Regions from separate parts of the Homo sapiens genome. Here regions 2 and 3 are each linked to region 1. The links are contacts of gene promoters, found by promoter capture Hi-C in blood cells and fetal thymus (Javierre and others, 2016). All regions are on one chromosome and are shown on one strand. Each heading gives the region's core, a stretch centred on a gene start or on the middle of the fragment in contact. The rest is flanking DNA. Distances are from core to core; before and after follow the strand shown. Region 1 holds the start of TSPAN16 (tetraspanin 16). Region 2 overlaps EPOR (erythropoietin receptor). Region 3 holds the start of RGL3 (ral guanine nucleotide dissociation stimulator like 3).

Region 1 (3,497 bases), core at 777-3,276:
CTCATTTTCCCACCGTCCTTTAAGCCCGTTTTCCCACTGCTCATTTGCAGCCAAGTTTCCATCTCGCATCTTTGCGTCCCCCTTCTCTGCACCCTCCTTTGCACCCCCATTTTCCTGCTTTCCCTTGAGTCCACATTTCCCAGACCTCCTTTGCCCCCTACATTTTCCAATGCTCTCTTGCATGCCCATTTATCACCCTCTTTTGTGCCCCCATTTCCAGGCCCTCAGCCCCTGGTTCTGAGGTTCCTTACTTCAAATGACCTTTTTTTTTTTTTTTTTTTTTTCCTGAAACGGAGGAGTCTCCCTCTGTCTCCCGGGCTGGAGTGCAGTGATGTGGTCTCGGCTCACTGCAACCTCCGCCTCCCGGGTTCAAGAGATTCTCCTGCCTCAGCCTCCCGAGTAGCTGGGACTGCAGGCACCCGCCACCACAACCGGCTAATTTTTTGTATTTTTAGTAGAGACAGGGTTTCACTGCATTAGCCAGGATGGTCTCGATCTCCTGACCTCGTGATCTACCCACCTCGGCCTCCCAAAGTGCTGGGATTACTGGCGTGAGCCACCGCGCCTGGCTTCAAATGACCTCTTAAATAAAGGTGTGGAAGGACACACTCCTGGCTGTGAACAGCACCCGTGGTCCAGGAGGAGACAGCACTCCTCTGTGAACATCTTGCTTAGTTCTACATGTTCCAAGAAGCAGGCGATTTGACAGACATTCATTAAATTAATTAAAGTGTAAGGTATTTTCTCCCATTTGAACCATCCGCCTTCCCCCAATCCATGCAGGACCTGGACCCAGACACACCCCAGCCCAGGGCTGGACAGAGAGGGGATCGGGGTGGGGCAATGTGAAGCTGCTATGGTTAGGGTGGGGAGGTATGGGGGCAAAGTGGGCTACAGACTGCAGGATCTAGGCCTGGAGGTCTTCAGTGCTGACATACAGAAGGTTTTTGGTCCTGAAATGCTAACTACATCTATCACCATGGAGAAAAGCCCAATGACCTGCTACTTGGGAGGCTAAGGTGGGAGGATCACTTGAGCCAGGGAGGTCGTGGCTGCAGTAAGCCATGATCACACCACTGCACTCCAGCCTGGGCAATGGAGCAAGATCCTGTCTCAAAAGAAAAAAACCCAGTGACCAATGGCTCACAGTTCCAGGACTCTCTGCCTTACAGGTTCCTGCCCTCATGTTACTCTTGGGGCTTCAAAGCCTGGTCTTGCTTCCTGTGTGGCCTCAGGCAGTTCCCTTGGCCTCTCTGAGCCCTGTATGAAGGATGGGCCAAGTATGGGCTTGGGCTTGGGAGGCCCGGTGGCTTGTAGCTAGATTTCTGCATCACAGAGCCTCTGGATCCATTCATTCATTCTCCGCGGGTTTCTTAAGTACTGCAGTGCCAGGCTTTGGGGACACAGCTGTTTTTGTTTTTGTTTTGTTTTGTTTGAGACAGAGTCTCACTCCGTCAACCAGGCTGGAGTGGAATGGCACGACCTCAGATCACTGCAACCTCCACCTCCTGGGTTCAAGTGATTCTCCTGCCCCAGCCTCCCAAGTAGCTGGGATTATAGGCGTGTGCCACCACACCCAGGTAATTTTTGTATTGTTTGTATTGTTAGTAGGTCTCAAACTCCTGACCTCAGGTGATTCGCCCGTCTCCGCCTCCCAACATGCTTTGACTACAGGTGTGAGCCACTGCGCCTGGCAGGGGTCACAGCTGTTAATAGGACAGCCCAAGTTCCCCCCTCCCCCGCTTGGATCCCCCAGTCTACTAGGAGATGTCAACTGTGCAAGTGGTTAGCTCTGGGCACTATGCCCACAGGGTCCTGGTGGCATCTGGAGGGTACCAGGGTAGCATACCATGCCTGTTCTCTTTCCCTGCTGTGACCTGTTTGAAGGATGAGGAGCCAACAGGGGGCAGTTTGGGGCACCTGATTTCCCTGGACCATGAGCCTTGCTCCAGAACCCAATTGTGATGTGATAAAAGGCTTATGACCAGGGCAGGGGGCAGCTGCTGGGCCGCCTTGGACAACCATCAGGCAGCCAGGACACAGAGGGGCAGAGCAAGTCAGCATTGGCGCCCCTTCCTCAGATCCCTATCATCTTGGGAAACAGTAGCCCAGAGGTTCAGGAAGATGTTAACTTAAATGTTCAGGGTGCCCCAGTCTGTTCAGCATGGCTGAAATCCACACTCCGTATTCTTCCTTGAAGAAACTGTTATCTTTACTCAATGGCTTCGTGGCTGTAAGTATGTCACAATCCAGGCCCCTGGTTTGTTGCAGCCCTTCCTCCACAGTCAGCTCCCTGAAAGACAGAAATAAGTTGATCCAAATTGGCATCGAGATCTGTGGTTCCCTGGAGAAGCAGGAGGGATGTAGGGCAGACGGAGGAGGAGGAGCAGGGAGCGTGGGGACCTCCATCAACCGAGAGCTGGTGAAATCCAGCACAGATGAGTGTGATCTGGGGGAGCCCAGGTGGGTGATGGAAGAGCTTGGCTCTAAGTCAAATCCTGTAGCCGACCAAGTTGTTTGGGAAGGCCAGGAGAAAGGGTTATTTTCTTGATCTTTTAAATTTGTCACATTTTTTTCCTTACCGTAAAAGTAACCCGAAATGTACATTGCTAAGGAATTGTCAGGCCGGGGGCGCTGGCTCATGCCTGTAATCCCAACGCTTTGGGAGGCCAAGGCGGGTGGATCACGAGGTCAGGAGTTCAAGACCAGCCTTGGTCAATATGGGGAAACCCCATCTCTACTAAAAATACAAAAAAATTAGATGGGCGTGGTGGCACGTGCCTATAATCCCAGCTACTCAGGAGGCTGAGGCATGTGAATTGCTTGAACCTGGGCGGCAGAGGTTGGCAGTGAGCCGAGATTGTGTCACTGCACTCCAGCCTGGGCAACATAGCGAGACTCTGTCTCAATAAAAAAATAAAAGAATAAAAACATAAAAAGAAGTAATTGTCTTCATTGTAGCATAGTCTAAGGAAAAGCTGCCAGGAAAGAGAAGGAAATGAAATATCACTCCTCCTCTTCACTTGTAACATTTTAAAGAGAATTAAGGCCGGCTGTGGTGACTCATGCCTGTAATCCCAGCACTTTGGGAGGCCGAGGTGGGCAGATCCATTGAGCCAGGAGCTCGAGACCAGCTATAGTGAGATCCCCATCTCTATTTAAAAAATAATAATACAAAATAAAGTGTTATTGGAACATGGCCGTGCTCACTTATTTGGAGATTGTGAACAGCTGCTTTTGGGCTACACCAATAGAACTGCGTAGTTTCAACAGACACCTTAAGTCCTGCAGAGGCCACAACATCTGGGTTTTTCAGAAAAAAAAAATTGCTAATCCCTGTCCTATGACATTATTTTATTTTATTTTATTTTATTTTATTTTGAGACGGAGTCTTGCTCTGTCACCCAGGCTGGAGTGCAGTGGCATGATCTCAGCTCACTGCAACCTCCACCTCCCAGGTTTAAGCGATTCTTCTGCCTCAGCCTCCTGAGTAGCTG
Region 2 (3,429 bases), core at 288-2,787, 82 kb after region 1:
TCAGGAGTTGGAGACCAGCCTGCCCAACATGATGAAACCCTGTATCAACTAAAAGTACAAAAAAAATTAGCTGGGTGTGGTGGCAGGTGCCTGTAGTCTCAGCTACTCAGGAGGCTTAGGCAGGAGAATTGCTTGAACCCAGGAAGCGGAGGTTGCAGTGAGCCGAGATTGTGCCACTACACTCCAGCCTGGGTGACAAAGCGAGACTCCATCTCAAAAAAAAAAAAAAAAAAAAGTTTGAGACTTCCTTCTTTTTGCACTCAACGTTGTTACTAAGATTCATCTACATTTTTTTAGTTCATTCCTTTTTCCATATTGCATATAATTCCATGGGTGACTATACCCTGATTTCTTCATCAGATTGCCTTATTTACTGCTGCGAACATTCTTGCACACATGCCCTGGTACGTGTGTGTGTTTTTAGGGGCCGAGACAGGTGGATCACCTGAGGTCAGGAGTTCGAGGTCAGCCCGGCCTACATGGTGAAACCCCGTCTCTACTAAAAATACAAAATTTAGCCAGGCATGGTGGCATGCACTTGTACTCCCAGCTACTTGGGAGGCTGAGACAGGAGAATTGCTTGAACCCGGGAGGCAGAGGTTGCAGTGAGCTGAGATCGAGCCACTGCACTCCAGCCTGGGTGATGAAGACGAGACTCTGTCTCAAAAAAAAAAAAAAAAAAAATCAGTCAGGCTTGGTGGTGCACGCCAGTAGTCCCAGCTACTCGAAAAGCTGAGGCAGGAGGATCGCCTGAGCCCAGGAGGTCGAGGCTGCAGCGAACCATGTTTGAGCTACTGGGCTCCAGCCTGTGCAAAAGTGAGACCCTGTCTCAGAAAAAAAAAGAAGTAGTTAAAGCAAAACTCCCACTGAGTTACTTGTTGACACCAAGTGTCATCAGAGTACTTTCTTAGAACATGGCCTGATTCAGAATTACTTTTATTATTATTAGTGGCAGAGACTAGCTAGTGGCCCTTAAACAGCTTTGCCCTTCCTGGGTGTACAGCTAAACTAAGTTTCCTGGCCTTTCATGTGACTGGGGTCATGTGACTGTTTCCAGCCAGTGAGGTGTGAGAAGAAGAGAGGAAGCCCATTTCCAGGCCAGATCCCTCAAATGGCCCATTGAGGGTCATTGCTGCCCTTTTTCTTCCCTTGCTGACTGGCAGTTTGTAGAACAGGGGATCCATCTAAGTACCCTAAGAGAAGGTAGAGCTACAGACTGGAAGAGTCTGAACCTCTGACTCATCCCATGGATGGCTGCCCATTTGAGCTGAGTTAGGAGAGAGAAATCATTTAATGTGGTAAGCCAGTAAGATTTAAGAGCTGTTTAACATACTATTTTGTTATGTTATGAGTAGCATTCAGATTGCAGATCCAGCTTCTGAATAAGCTCAAGAACTTTAACTTCTATCCCTATGGCCTATGCCCAGGGGAAGATGGGACTTAAAGGGTGTTTGTAGAAATCATGGTAGAAAAACTTACATACATATGTGTATATATATATATAGATACAAAAAAAAACTATACATATTTAAAAATACTGCAAGGTTGTGGTTTCCTGAGCAGGATGGATTGGGCAGACAAAATCAGCAATGCCCCTGCTCCTGAGAGAGGCCTCGCCATCCCTGTTCCATAAGTCTTGAGTCTGCACTGGTTCTCTGAGTCATATTGGATCCCTGATCATCTGCAGCCTGGTGTCCTAAGAGCAAGCCACATAGCTGGGGGGCAGAGGCTCAGCGGCTGGGATAAGGCTGTTCTCATAAGGGTTGGAGTAGGGGCCATCGGATAAGCCCCCTTGGGCTCCCTGGGAGTCCCCTGAGCTGTAGTCAGTTGAGATGCCAGAGTCAGATACCACAAGGTACAGGTACTTTAGGTGGGGTGGGGTAGGGGGCAGCTCAGGGCACAGTGTCCATGGACGCAAGAGCTGGGAGCTGGGGTCCAGGATAGTGTACTCAAAGCTGGCAGCAGAGGCTCCCTCTGGGCTGGGCTTCGAGGCCAAAGCAGATGAGCAGGAGGATGCTTCTGAGCCTTCATCCATGGCCACTATGTCCACACTGCCACCAGGCCCTGGGAGGTCCTCACTGGGCGGGTTCCGGGGCAGCAACCATTTGTCCAGCACCAGATAGGTATCCTGGGCATGCTCACTGCCCACTGGCTCCAGCAGGGGGCCCTCATCATCTGTCCCCGGCTCCACTGCCTGCATCGTCCCCCAGCAGCGCTCTGAGAGGACTTCCAGGGAAGCAGGTGGGTCCTCCGTGAAGGGGGTGCAGGGGCTCCACCACAGGCAGCCATCATTCTGGTACAGCCACAGCTGAAGAAATAGCACCAACCTGCTCAGAGAGGCCTGCAGTTTGGCTGCAAGAAGCAGGGAAGCCCAGGCACTGAGGGGACAACCAGGCCACCTACCTGGAAGTTACCCTTGTGGGTGGTGAAGAGGCCTTCAAACTCGCTCTCTGGGCTCGGGATGCCAGGCCAGATCTTCTGCTTCAGAGCCCTGTTGAAGCCAATATAAATAGTTACATAGATATGACTCATTGAATACTCACCAATTCCCCCTCCACTCCCAGTCATAGAGGCACAGATACACTTGGTCCCTGTGATCACAATGGAGGCAGAGGAGTACATCAGGGCCAGGGGACAGGGGTTTTGGCTGAAGCATCAGCAAGGCCCTACAAAAGGGTAAATGGAACAGGGTATTGAAGGGTGCATAGGAGTTCAATATACCTTGGTCATTCTCCCTTTAATCCTGGCCATGGCCAGGTGCAGTGGTTTACACCAGCACTATAATCCCAGTACTTTGGGAGGCTGAGGTGGGAGGATCATTTGAACCCAGGAGTTCAAGACCAGCCTAGGAAACATAGTGAGACCCCCATCTCTAAAAAAAATAAAATAAAATAAATTAAAAAACCCAAAACCCTGGCCCAGATTTTTCCAGGAGGTCCATGATGTCACTTCATAGATAAATATTATGTTACCTTCTGGGGTAATGAGAGAAGGCATTTAGGATAAAATCCAAGCCAGGCACGGTGGCTCATGCCTATAATCCCAGCACTTTGAGAGGCTGATGTGAGCAGATCACCTGAGGTCAGGAGTTTGAGACCAGCCTGGCCAACATGGTGGAACCCCGTCTCTACTAAAACTACAAAATTAGCCGGGCATGCACGCCTGTAATCTCAGCTACTCAGGCGGTTGAGGCAGGAGAATCACTTGAACCTGGGAGGCAGAGATTGCAGTGAGCCAAGACTGCTGCACTGCACTACAGCTTGGGCGACAAGAGTGACTCTGTCTCAAAAAAAAAAAAAATTCCAAACTCCTCCCCACCACCCTGCAGAAGGCCCTGCGTTATATGACCCCTGTCACCTCCCTCATCTCAATATCTGCCACACCCCCTTACATACCACTCTAGCCATGTGGCAATTTTTTTTTTTTTTT
Region 3 (3,404 bases), core at 608-3,107, 120 kb after region 1:
GCCCCTAGCACCACTTTTTTTTTTTTTTTTTTGAGACAGAATCTCACTCTGTCACCTAGGCTGGAGTTCAGTGGCGTGATCTTGGCTCACTGCAACCTCCGCCTCCTGGGTTCAAGCAATTCTCTGCCTCAGCCTCCCAAGTATCTGGGATTACAGGCACCCGCCACCAAGCCCAGCTAGTTTTTTCGTATTTTTAGTAGAGACGGTGTTTCACCGTCTTGGCCAGGTTGGTCTTGAACTCCTGACCTGATGATCCACTTGCCTCGGCCTCCCAAAGTGCTGGGATTACAGGCGTGAGCCACCTCGCCCCGCCTGTAGCACCATTCTTTCATGTGATTCCTCTGTCTCCCGGCTTCTTGGAGTTATTGTTTTGGTTTGTTTTTTTTAGAAACAGGTCTTGTTTTGTTGCCCAGGCTGGGGTGCAGTGGCACAATCATAGCTCACTGCAGCCTCCAAGTCCTAGACTCAAGCGGTCCCTCTGCCCCAGCCTCCTGAGTAGCTGGGACCACTGCTGGGCATCATCACGCACAGCTAGTTTTTTAATTTTTATTTTTATTAGAGAGAATCTTGCTGTGTTGTCCAGGCTGGTCTCCAATTCCTGGCCTTCTGCCTTGGTCTCTCGAAGCGCAGGGATTATAGGTGTGTGCCCCACTCCCTGCCCGCTTGAAGTTATTGTTCCTCCCCATCCACAAATAGCTCCTGCAACTTGCCCTGGAAACCCTCCCTCTCCCATGCCCTGTCCCCTACTCCCTCTCCCGTCCCCTCCCCCTCCCGTCCCCTCCCCCCACCCCCCCGCCCCCGCCCCACACACTCTTTTCCACCCAGGGCTTCCCTCAGCCCTCCTGTCGCGCTTCACTGGCTGCCCCATCCGCCCTCACCTAGCCACTTCTAAACCAACCCCATTCCACCTTCCAGCCCCGGCCCTCTAAACCTGCCTTTCCCAACTCTGCCGTCCAGTTCTGTCCTTACCAAGTTGTCCCTAGGCTCCTCTCGGGAACTGCGCGGCCATCGCCTGGCCCCACCCCATTCCCTGGATCTCCCCCCACTTACCTGGCCGCCCCCAGTCCCCTTTCTACCTGGTCGCCTCATCTGGTCGCCTCCGAGCCCCTCCCTTCCTTCCGCCCACTGCACCTGGCGGCCTGTGCTCGGCTCTCCAGCTCCGCCCTCAACTGGTCGCTTCCGGCCCCGCGCCACCCACCAAACCCCCTCCTCACCTGGCTGCCCCCGGGGCCCTCCGCCGGGCTCCTGCGCTGACTGCGCTGCCGCCGCAGGGAGACACTGTACACCGCGCCGTCCTCGGTCTCTTCACCCCAGTCCTGCAGCGGTGCCTGGACGCACAGGCGGACTCAGGGCACCAAAGGGGCACAGGTCCTGGGGCCTCAGCCTCCTTGGCCGCTCGGACTCGGGCCGAGTCCTCCTGCTGCATCCCCACGCCCCTTCCCGGCCAGAAGCTGCGAGACTAGGGCTGGGGTCCCAGGCTAGTCCCCTCCTCGCTGCGGGTCCCCTCCTCCCAGGTCCTGAGGACATGGGGTGGCATTTGGGGATGTCCCAGGGCCCAGTCTAATAGAACCTGTCTCTAGCTCTTTCTGCCGACTGCGCTCAGAGACTCGCGCCCCCATCCCTAAGAGGAACCAGTCGCTTCACTGGGTCAAGGGCCGCGAGTCCCCAGGAGGGGACTCCAGGGCAAGTTCAGATTGGGAGCAGATACCGTCCGACGGGCGGGCGCTTGGAGTTTCTGGACCTGCGGGTCACCAGGGATGCGGGGTCCGGGGATCCCTTGTCCCCTTACCAGGGCCAGCTCTTTGCCTGCTGTGCGCTCCATGGCCGGCGCCCGTCCCTCTCAGTGGCGCCGCTGAGTGAGGCGGAAGGGCCGGCGGGTGGCGGGTGGCGGGCGGCGGGCAGTGGCCGGGCGCTGAGGCCAGAGGGGCGGAGCGGCCGAGCTGCTGGGGCGGGGCGGGGCAGGGCAGGCCGGACCCAGCCTCTGGGTGCCTCCAGCCGGACCCAGCGCCAGCCCAGGAGAGGTCCTGGCTCTTCCGCTGGGTGCCTATCAATCTGTCCCCAGAAGAAAGGACATATCTGTCCCCAAGGGGTCTTTTTTGTATCCCCAGATGTGGGGGAGCTCCTGTGTGGGGGCATGTGTGTGTCCCCAGACCAGAGTCCTCTGTCCTCCAGTGGAAGGGGCTAGCTTGATCAAGTGTGGGGGCATCTTCCACTTTTTATTATTATTGCTATTATTTTGAGATGGAGTCTCGTTCTGTCACCCATGCTGGAGTACAGTGGCTTGATCTTAACTCACTGCAACCTCCGCCTCCCAGATTCAAAGGATTCTTGTGCCTCAGCCTCCCAAGTAGCTAGGATTACAGGTGCCGCCACCATGCTCAGCTAATTTTTGTATTTTTTGTAGAGGCGGGGTTTTGCCATACTTGCCAGGCTGGTCTCAAACTCCTGGCCTCAAGAGATTCGCCCACCTCAGCCTCCCAAAATGCTGGGATTACAGGCATGAACCACGGCGCCCAGCCTTATTATTTTTTAGAGACAGGGTCTCACTCCTGTTGCCAAGGCTGCAGTGCAGTGGCTTGATCTTGGCTCACTGCAATCTCCGCCTCCTGGGTTCAATCCATTCTCCTGCCTCAGTCTCCCAAGTAGCTGGGACTACAGGCATATGCCACCATGCTCAGCTTTTTTTTTTTTTTTTTTTTTTTTTTTTTTTTTTTTGGTAAAAACTGGTTTTCACCATGTTGCCCAGGCTAGTCTGGAACCCCTGGGCTCAAGCGACACACCCAGCTCAGCCTCCCAAAGTGCTGGGAATATAGGTATGAATGAGCCACTGCACCCCGCCCTTATTTTATTTATTGAGACAGGGTCTGGCTCTGTGGCCCAGGCTGGAGTGCAGTAGCACGATCATAGCTCACTGCAGCCTGGAGCTCCTGGACTCAAGTGATCCTCCCAACTCAGCCTCCCAAAATACTGGGATTACAGGCATAAAACCACTACATCGGGCCATCTCCCATTTTTAAGCTCCATCTGCGTCACTAGCTGATGGGAGTCATCATGACCCAGGTTGGAGGAGGCAGTCTGTGGCCCTGGGTTTTCAGGGACAGCCGTCTCTTGGGTGGTGCAGGGTCAAAAACAGATGAATACCCAGGGGCATGGTCGGTAACATTTATTGCGCAACTCTGAGGCCGGGGCGGACCCAGCTGGGGAGATTTACTGTGGGAACGTCTGGCCCGGCCCCTTCCTCCCCTCCGGGCGCCGCTGGCCGCCTCCGTTCCCGGTCCGGGCCGCGTTCAGCCCCTGAAGGGGCCCCGTGGGGCCTGCGCTAGACCCGGAGGGATCGGGGGCTCCGAAGGGGGCCGCCTGGTGGGTGTCAGGACGAGTCTAGGACCTCCGAGAGCGACGGTGCT

The links. Contacts are between HindIII fragments. The CHiCAGO score rates a contact against its expected background, and 5 or more counts as called.
Region 2: a contact is called between a fragment that was not itself captured here and the fragment with the promoter of TSPAN16 in region 1, in 7 of 17 cell types (M0 macrophages, megakaryocytes, monocytes and 4 more). The highest score is 11.6, in M0 macrophages.
Region 3: the fragment with the promoter of RGL3 here is called in contact with the fragment with the promoter of TSPAN16 in region 1 in 10 of 17 cell types (neutrophils, erythroblasts, monocytes and 7 more); the score reaches 11.8 in neutrophils.

What each region holds. Positions count from the first base shown.
Region 1 is chr19:11,294,134-11,297,630 of GRCh38, forward strand. It overlaps TSPAN16 (tetraspanin 16), which reads left to right and starts at 2,027. Exons shown (of 7, transcript NM_001282509.2): 1 at 2,027-2,233. The coding sequence starts at 2,165. The HindIII fragment of the contact is 19,527 bases long and covers 1-3,497 here.
Region 2 is chr19:11,376,288-11,379,716 of GRCh38, forward strand. EPOR (erythropoietin receptor) reads right to left here. Exons shown (of 8, transcript NM_000121.4): 7 at 2,404-2,491; 8 at 920-2,308. The coding sequence ends at 1,697. Among named protein-coding and RNA genes, the nearest start is that of SWSAP1, 3.3 kb to the left of the region's middle. The HindIII fragment of the contact is 5,258 bases long and covers 1-3,429 here.
Region 3 is chr19:11,417,457-11,420,860 of GRCh38, forward strand. It overlaps RGL3 (ral guanine nucleotide dissociation stimulator like 3), which reads right to left and starts at 1,858. Exons shown (of 19, transcript NM_001035223.4): 1 at 1,790-1,858; 2 at 1,215-1,328. The coding sequence starts at 1,822. ODAD3 (outer dynein arm docking complex subunit 3) reads right to left here. Exons shown (of 13, transcript NM_145045.5): 13 at 3,149-3,404. The coding sequence ends at 3,379. The HindIII fragment of the contact is 8,157 bases long and covers 1-3,404 here.